Linked DNA regions of Homo sapiens: region 1 is linked to region 2. The links are contacts of gene promoters, found by promoter capture Hi-C in blood cells and fetal thymus (Javierre and others, 2016). All regions are on one chromosome and are shown on one strand. Each heading gives the region's core, a stretch centred on a gene start or on the middle of the fragment in contact. The rest is flanking DNA. Distances are from core to core; before and after follow the strand shown.

What was found. The method cuts DNA at HindIII sites, captures the fragments that hold promoters and counts their contacts. A CHiCAGO score of 5 or more calls a contact.
Region 1: a contact is called between a fragment that was not itself captured here and the fragment with the promoter of GPD2 in region 2, in 1 of 17 cell types (M0 macrophages). The highest score is 7.0, in M0 macrophages.

Annotation. Positions count from the first base shown.
Region 1 is chr2:152,712,650-152,717,235 of GRCh38, forward strand. It overlaps PRPF40A (pre-mRNA processing factor 40A), which reads right to left. Exons shown (of 26, transcript NM_001365597.4): 1 at 4,581-4,586; 2 at 3,346-3,477. Among named protein-coding and RNA genes, the nearest start is that of PRPF40A, 2.5 kb to the right of the region's middle. RefSeq lists an enhancer at 4,512-4,586. The HindIII fragment of the contact is 1,151 bases long and covers 2,425-3,575 here.
Region 2 is chr2:156,433,810-156,438,652 of GRCh38, forward strand. GPD2 (glycerol-3-phosphate dehydrogenase 2) reads left to right here and starts at 2,570. Exons shown (of 17, transcript NM_000408.5): 1 at 2,570-2,704. RefSeq lists silencers at 1,672-1,841, 2,282-2,691 and an enhancer at 2,082-2,131. The HindIII fragment of the contact is 5,965 bases long and covers 1-4,843 here.

The DNA.
Region 1 (4,586 bases), core at 1,750-4,249, 3.7 Mb before region 2:
ACTGATAGAGGAAAATAAAGACTCAAATAGGGAGGAAAAAAAAAGAGCCAGCTAGCATGACTCTGGGGCAAAGGCATAATCATCTGTGATAAAGATGGCAGGACCTGCATGTCCTTTGTGTAGAAAACACAAAAGACATGAAAACAGTATTTACTATGGACACTGAGGAAGAAGACAGCCTCACACATAATTTTATTGATAGAAATCTCTACAGAAAATCTTTATTTTTTTGAGATAGGGTCTCACTTTGTCACCCAGGATGGAGTGCAAGGCGTGATCTTGACTCACTGCAGCCTCGACCTCCCAGGTTCAAGCAATCCTTCTGCCTCAGCCCCCTAAGTAGCTGGGACGACAGACGCACACCACCACACCCAGCTTATTTTTAAATAGTTTTTGTAGAGATGGGGTTTCACCATGTTGCCCAGGCTGGTCTCCAACTCCTGAGCTCAAGCGATGCACCCGCCTCAGCCTCCCAATGGGAAATTTTTGAGTACTGCCATCCAGCAGGGAAAATTCTTTATCTTTCTTTACTAACATTTAACCAGTGATCCTCAAAGCATCTTAAATCACATATTATTTAAAGCTTAAACAACCTGTAAGGTCCCTTTCAGCTATAAGATCCTATAACTCTAAAAGTATGACTTTCCTATAAAGTTATATAGAATAAGAGGCAAATTTAATCTACAAGATAGAAAACTGAAATAAACCTGAAAGAATATTAAGCTCAATTTGATAATCATCAAATATTTATTACTACTAAGAGTCAGCCTAAATGCATGAGATGGCACTCTAGGTCATCTCATGAATTAAGAAAAAAAAAATTTGAACACACCACTTCTTTAAGCTAAATAGCTTGATGCATTTGAGAAATTATGAACCCTGGCTTCCGTACATCATTATGCTACCCAGTCTGCATATTATTTTACAAACAAGTTTTACAGTTTCATGTCATATTGGTAACATTCCAAAGACCACAATTATTTGGCAAGTAAGACTGCCACCAATTTTAGTCTTTAGCTAGTCCCAGCATGAGATGTTCATGCAAACCAGTCAACACATGAAGGTTTTTATAACCTTCAGTCCCAAAGTCTAAAGAATTTGTGAACTGACTTTTTTAAATTGCATGGCAGAACCCTCCCAACTGTCACTACTGTGAATGATACAGACAGACATCCTGCTTCTTCTCAATTATCTTCTGACCACTTATTCCTCCTGAGTACTTCCAAGAGTGGCAGAAGAAATAATGCAGGAAAAAGGATCAATTGTCCTATTTATTATCACCTTTAATTTTTAAAGCAATGTTTACAGAGTTTCAAATATGATTTCTGATTTGAGAATTCAAATTATCCATGCTCTCCCAGTCTGTTATAAAGCTAAAACAAGAATTTGTTTTACCAAGATTTGGGACCCATATTTGTTAGTGAAATATTAAGGGGATAAAAGGGAATTATATAATTCTGACAAAAACAGCGGAGATTCTTTTGGGACTTTCAGGGCATAACTCCTACTAAAACATTTATTTATTATACTAACAGGAGCCTTCAGAGGGAGAAGAATTCTAAACATCTAAATAATTAGGTCTACTTAAAGGCACGTGGCATATATTAGCCTAGGAAAAAGTAGAAGAAAACCACACCAAAAAAATCAGTTATTTGAATGGATGTGTACCGAGTAGCAAGTAAACTTACTAGAAAGATGGTCACTGATACAGCTAAAGAGAAAGGGCCATAAAGCAAACTGTGACCAGCTTATGTCAATGAGATACATGAAAGTACTTTTAAAAAATAAAATCTGCATTTTTTTTTTTAACTAGAACTATGACTAGCTGGTATCTTGGTTTTGGTAGTGCAATAGCACCATTACAGCAAGGGTAAGCAGGTCAATCCCTTGCAAAACTTACCTTGATTGGCCCAATGGAAACAGAAGGCCCCAGAAAAGAGAGAAGCATCTGGCAGTAGCAAATTGTTTTATTTTATCTTTCTGTGGAAAGAAACTAATTTTAAATAAGAACCAGAGCATTTAAAGAATAAATATTTTTAAAGCTCATTATCTAGTTAGAGCAGCTCTACCAAGAAAACAAGAAGAGCTCCTTGCTCCTTAGAGATGGAAAGAAACAGAAGAGGAATCAAAGTTGTTTCTCCATCACCTAGAGAGTTTTAAAATTTGTGTTATTCTAGAGTAACAGAATAAAAGGCTCTTTTATTTAAAGAACTCCTGCAAGCAGAATCTTTTGGGGCTGGTGCCTTTGAATAAAGGTTTTGTTTTGTTTTTTAACAAAATTAAGGGCAATATTCCAAATTAAAAAAAAAAAGAGGAAAATCACTGGACATTAAGCCCTTCTACTCTTAAGGTTAAGTAAAAAGAGACAGACACATAGCAAGCTCCTTTTCCCACTGCAATTTCACCAATAACTTTAACCATGAAAGCTTAAACAATTATCAAACAGTACTAATTAGCAAAAGATCACATGAAATTGGCTTCCAAAATATTTTGTTAGCCTAAATTTTTGATGATTTATGGAAATACTCAAATGGAAATAACCCAGCCACCTAAAGATCTATTATAGAACTTAACATGAAGCACAAAATTACTCATGGTAACTGAACCTGTTACCTTTCTTGGATGCTTCTCTAGAAACTCAGTTCTACCGAAATCACTGAATCAGCATTAAAACCTTTTGATCCAAATCACTCCTACAAAATGTCCATTTACAATTTATGCTAGAGATGGAAGGGACAGCTCATAAGCAGGAGTGTAGAAGCAACAAGCATTAAAAAAAAATAGTATAAGTGGAAAATGAACTACCTATTGGCACTGTCCTATGAAGAATCAGAATTATAGAGCACAAACTCCCCACCCTCCCTCACCCTCCTCCAACACACAAAGAGGAAGATATTTCAGGAATAAAATTCGCTCTAAACCAAAACAATAGCTATTTTCAGATTCTATTTATTTACATGGTCTACCAAAATCAGTTATGTTGCTGTATCAGATAATATTTACTTAGACCATCAACTTCAATTGGCATTCTTGAAAAAATAATCATTAAAAATAAAAGCCTGGATCCACACTTTACTTTTAAATAATAAAGAAAAAAATTCTTAGTTTTGAGGTCATCAGTAAATTTCTCAGAAGACTTTTTCATTATTTAAATTTCTCAGAAGACTTTTCCATTATTCAAATTTCCGTTACAGTCATGATTTAACATTTGGCTTATTTGAAATTATTCGGGCATAAACTAATCATTAAACAGCTATAACTACTGACCTAGATTCTGAAATCTTGATAGAATACCTGAGGCAAAAACAAATAAATAAATGCAAAATAAAACAAAAACAGTCTTACTTGTCCCATTGGTGGCCCTCCCATAGGGGGCATCATCTGCGGCATCATTCCATGAGGTACAGGAGGCATATTCGCTCTCTGACCCATAGGGTGCATTCCCATTGGGGCATAATGCATGCCAGGGTGCCCCATCTGAAAAACAGTGAACATTTTTAAATGAGCAAATAATACTAAATGCTTCTCAAAAATCTCATTTCAACAGATCAGTTATCTGAAGCGACATAATATTAAGCTTATGTGTAATAACATCATTGGATTAGTCTATACCTTGTTTCAAACAAAACGCATTCTGCTAGTATTTAAAACGAGCTTGCAAATTCCGTAAAAAAATGGGAAAAGTTAAGATGAATCCTGGACCGCTGGATCATAGGTTTTCTCTCTCTTTTTTTTAAGCACTGACTTAACCAGCTACTAATTGGCTTGCTAAGCTTGGAGGATACACATTGAATACTAATTTTAAAACTGTTATGGTGAAAACAACAACTCTCCTATTTCATGCAGATATAAAAGATAGCCAGCTATTGTTATTTTATAACACTACTGATTTTAAACTTTAAAATGCTCTATCCAATTAACTCAGGTGAGAGTCGGTCTTACAAAACACAAACAGTATGGCTACCCAGGCACAATTCACTCCTAACAAACTTATTTCCTAACATAACCTTTAAGACAGGTAAAATTCCTTCTGCCAAAAATACATTTTCAAAGACTGAGGTTCTGTCACTCACGGACACTAAATGCAAACAACTAATTCATCCTTTTTAACGCAGTTTAAAAAGACAACTACTTTCTTTACCGATGAGTCCATTGTTCTATGTTTTAAATTAAAACCACCTAATTATCTCCTGCCAATTGTCCCAACAGTTCCCCCTGCAGACCACCCCGACGACTAATGAAAACAAATTTTGGCAGCCGCTGTTAAAGTCTTACAGTATCAAGCCCCTGCCTCCCCCTCCCAGCTAAAATCGGGCCTAAAGCTCCAAGACGCTCACCCCGCCCAAGAGCCAGCACCTTCACCACGCATCTGTCTAGGCCAAGCCCACGGGGAACTTCCAGGGTCTCACATCCTTCTCTTTGTGCATTTCCACCCTCCACTTCTCTCCCTCAGAACATATCCCACCATCTCGAGTTCTTCCTTCGTCCACTCTTATCTTCTTCTCCTTTCGGAGAAAGCTTCCTGTTTCTCACTCCGTTTTTCATTGTGCCGCCTTCCCCCTGCCCCACTGATCCCTTACCGAGGG
Region 2 (4,843 bases), core at 1,320-3,819:
AACATCAGTTATATTCAGGCACTATGCTAGGCACTAGAGTACAAAAGTGAGTAACTGATGGTCCCATTTCCCAAGCACTGAACTGATCTGGGATAATCAGTGAGAAGGAAATCCAGGACTGGCACCCAACTCAACCAGATTATTCCTTTTCTGGGTAACATGTTGCATTTCTAGATAAATGATGAGGGTTTGAAAAAAATGATAAAAATATTGGTTTGATTTGTCAAACTAAAGAAAAAAGAACTGAGGCATACTTAATATAACCAGTCTCATGATGTTGCCCAGTCACAAGTTTTTATTTATTTATTTTTTGAGATGGAGTCTCACTCTGTTGCCCAGGGTGGAGTTCAGTGGTGCCATCTCAGCTCACTGTAACCTCTGCCTCCCAGGTTCAAGTGATTCTCCTGCCTCAGCTTCCTGAGTAGCTGGGATTACAGGTGTTTGCCACCATGCCCGGCTAATTTTTGTATTTTTAGTAGAGATAGGGTTTCACCATGTTGGTTAGGCTGGTCTTGAACTCTTGACCTCGTGATCTGCCCACCTCAGCCTCCCAAAGTGCTGAGATTACAGGCGTGACCCACTGCGCCTGCCCGGCCACAAGGAAGTTTTTAAAGGAAAAGAAGAGGCAGTTTCTAAATTGTTTACCAATAATTTACATAAAAAAACAAACTATTAATTGTCTATAGATTGTTCTTCGTATCACAAATTCCAGGAACATGAAGATATGGTTGGGTAGTCAGTCATGAACAAAATGCCTTTAAACAATCGCCTCTGAGCATGAGTGTGGGGGGTGCAACTTATGTCCCATATTCAAGGTCTCTCTGGGCCTGATAAATTTTGCATACCTCACATTGCTCAAATGCTCTGAACTATTTTTCTTTTCTCAACTACAATTTCCTTTTTCTGGTTGCTCATGATTCAACTGGGGGAGCTTTTAAACCGTGGTTCTCAAACTTTAATGTGCATCAGAACTACCCAAAGGGCTTGTTAAATCTGGGTAGCTCAGCCCCAGCCCCAGAGTCTATGAATCAGGTCACTGGAGTACAGTTTCTGTCAAGTTCTCAGGTGATGCTGATGCTGCGGGCTCCAGTGACTACACTTTTAGAGCCAGTTTTAAAATACAAGGACTTGCAGATCCCACGTCCAGACTGACTCATTGGACTTGGGGATGGAAATCTGGCATTCCACCCCTCCCTGCCCCCTCCCCCCAATTTTAATGTGTCCAAGGGTGAGAATCATTGCTCCTCTGTGGACTATGGATGGTTCCCTGAAGTTACTGAGTTTGGGATTTAATAAATATATGCATTCCTCTGGGTCAACTACAGGAATTCTGCGGTATTTAAGGACATTAAATGAGTGACTTAATACTTTATTTAAAAAAATACCACTGCTTTTTGGTTCACACTAATTTTCTTCCTTCTTTTGGAAAGGCATTTCCGTCCATCTCCTGGATATTTTCCAATACCACGATAGAAAGGTTATTAGTACAGCACCCAGAGGTCTTCGGAGCAAAGCTGTTAAAGAAGTGGGGTCCATTTGAGCCCCAACTTTGCCTTCCTTAGGTCCCCTTGGGCTTGTCTAGCCCTAGGAGTTCCAACAAGTAAGCTGGGCATGCTCAGTGGGCAGGGTCGTTTTTTTTTTTTGGGTGGCGGGGGGTTGCAAGTGGGAAGCCTGCTGTTCAGCTGCCGGGGCTCTCCGCCTCCCCCCACCTGTATGAGGCTGGGTCTGGGGAACCTGTGCTCAGCATTCCACCCCCTGGAGCTTGGGCTTGGTCTTCCCTGCGGGTCCCTGCGCTGACATTCAGGCGGGGAGCCAGGAGGCCTGGCGCGCCTCCAGAGCCCGCCGGGGGAGCCGGGCGAGGGTTCTGGGCTCTGACGGCGGGGTCGCAGGGTCGCCCGCCTCCTGGACACGTCTGTAGGCCTAGGGAAGCCTGCCGGCCGGGAGGTACAGAGTAGGAGAAGCCAGATCCCAGGGCGGACAACGAGAAGTCGTCAGGTAAGCCAGCCCCGCCAGCGTGCCGGCGGACGAGTGTCTCCTCTCCCGCAGGCAGATGGCCAGGGCGGCCCGCATGGGCGAGGGCACAGGAAATCGGACACCGCCACCGTCTTCCCCAGCCTGGCCTAGCTCAGGCTTTCCAGTCCGCCAGCCCGCTGGCAAGGCGGGGCGGAGGTCTGGAGTCCGGCATCGCCGAGGCACAAAGCAGGAACTGCAGCCAGGGGCGAGGGCCCTTGCGTGTGGCGCTGCGCGACCCCACCCGGCGGCAGGACCCGCGTCCCCGTCTAGTCACGTTCATTGGGCCACGGAGACCACCTCGCTCGCCGCCCGCTGTTGGCTTTTCCCTCCCACACCCCCGCCAACCCCGGCCCCGGTTCCCGCCCCCACTTCCGCGTTTCCCCGCTGGGCCGGAGGAGCCTGGGCCCGAGGTATCCGGGCAGGAGGTGGCGGCCTCGCCGCCCTGGTCAGGCCTCCGGGAGGGAGCAGGCGCGGGAGCGGGAGGAGGAAGTCGGGAAGAGGGAAGGCGGGGGCGCGGCCCGCCCGGCGCTCGAGTTACACCCGCCCAGCCCGCCTCGAGTGACAGCCCCGCGCGCCTCGCTGGGAGCACCCGGGCCGAGGCTCTGATTCTGGGGGGAGGCCGACTCCACCCTGGCTGGAGGAACTGGGTGCTCCTGCCCGCTGGCCCCTCGCGCGTGAGGATCTATCTCAGGTGTGTGCTTCCTGGGAGACCCCTTCCCCCGCCTCTAGTATTCTAGGGGGGGAGTGGTCCCTTTCTGACCCGGGCGAGTGTTCTGGGACTCCAGTCTTGGCGGTAGGTGGTGGCGGGAAACGGGAAAGATTTAGAATTTCTTCCCACCAGCAGAAGATGGATTCGCTCTTCTCTAGGGTTTCGTTGTTTATGTTTTGGAGGCGGCATTTGTAAAATAGTAAAGTGGCAGGACTTTTGGGGCGAGGGTTGGTACCCCATTGAAAGTTCATGCAAACTTTTAGCTTGTAGATGCGGCTAGTCTGATAAGGATTGTTGCTCCCTTCCGAAGCAAGAGTGAGAACGAGTCTGGAGGAGGGCTGAGGCTTCTTTGAGAAACTCAGCTGCTGGCGTGTGACCGTCCTAGGAGGAAATGGAAGGTGCACACTGATAACTTAAAACAGCCTCCACTCCCTATGTAGTAACTTCTACCAGCAAAAATAGATTTGCAAAGAGTGCTTTGGCAGGAAGGTGTAGCTGGGTGAATGAAGTGCTGCTCTTAGCAGATGGTCTCTAGTCTGGCTTCCACCTTGTGCAGTGGAATATTCACTCCCAGAAGAGTTCCAGAGTAATTTACAAACACAAATTCTTGCAAAGTGTTAGTGACATGGGCAACCCAAATCACACACAACACATTATAAATATCATAGGAGGCAGCTATAGAAATAGCAGCTAGTCAACTTATACTTGTATAAATAGGTGAGGGAAGGAAGTTAGTAAGTGACAGGGAGTCTTTATTGCTAAAACAAAACTGTTAGTATTTTGCATGTGTTCCAAGTTTAAAGAGATGTGAAGTTTCTTTTTGGCGTGTGGACGGTGCTGGCAGCTGTCACACTGGGCCCAGGCACTTCTTCGTAGCTACTGACCACTCTAGTCCCAGTCCTACAGTTCTTGCTGGCTACCACATGACATCTGGATGCCATTGCCCAATGGAGACCGTGTGCAGTCTGGGGAACCTTGTGATGTGGATGTTGAAACCCCCCTCTGTTTCTCACAGGGGCGTTATGTCAAATTACAACACTCCCTTGACTTTTACAAATCAACTCGTGAAATAATACAGCAATATTTTAATGAATAAATGGGTAAATATGGGGTTTTGGGTTTGAGAACCAACAATGGATTCATTGCAACTGTCCATTCTCATAGCTTATAGAGTCACTTTATTTTATAAAGAAATTCTAAACAGCATTAGAGCTCTGCTTCCTTCTTTCTCCCTTGTGATTCATTCAAAGATGCAATGGCTTGGTTCAGGAATTGACAAAAGGGCCACAGTGTTACCAATTGTTAGTGAGTGTTACCACCCCCTTTAGTTTTTTTTGTAACTATTTAATCTCATTGTAGATATTTTAAAAGATTTGATGATTATTGTGCATAACTCATGTTGGCAAACTATTATAACTCTGAACTTATCCTGTTTGGTTGTTTTCTTTCATCTCTAGCGTGTAAGTTCTATGAGAGTAGCAGGGCTTGTTCTGTCTTGCATACTTTCAAAACTCTAATGCCTGGAGTGGTGACTAGCTTGTAATACACCCTCAATAAATGTTTTCTCAATGAGTGACCTCCAATGCCTAGAGGGGTGACTAGCTTGTAATACACCCTCAATAAATGTTTTCTCAATGAGCGACTGAACTGTGGAACAAACTCCAGCTGAGGGTAGTTGTGGAGCGGGGAGCCAAAGACTTTGGCCTTAGGTCATCTTTTAAAACTCAGCCTCAATTGTCTCATTGGCAAAATATGGATAATAAATGCTATGACGTGTGTAAAATTGCTAGCAATGTACCTGGCAAGTAGTAGACTTCAAAAGACTAGCTTCCATCCTATATTTTTCCTTCTTATACTCAAGTAGGAAAATATGGGCAAAGAATGTAGTTAGCTTGAAAATTTGGGCAAAGAATTCTTGCATGTTGTGCATGAATTATCCGTACATTTTTTTCGGTTAGTTGAGTGTGTTGGGATGGGGAGAGGAGAGGCGAGTTAGTGGTAGCTATGGTTATTAGAGAAGGGAAGCAATTTTCAGATCAGTATCTAATTTCTCAGTTTTAGTTTTTGAATGTGATGATGTTTCTGTTTAGGTTTTCCAAAACTTGATTCTTTCTGTTTGTC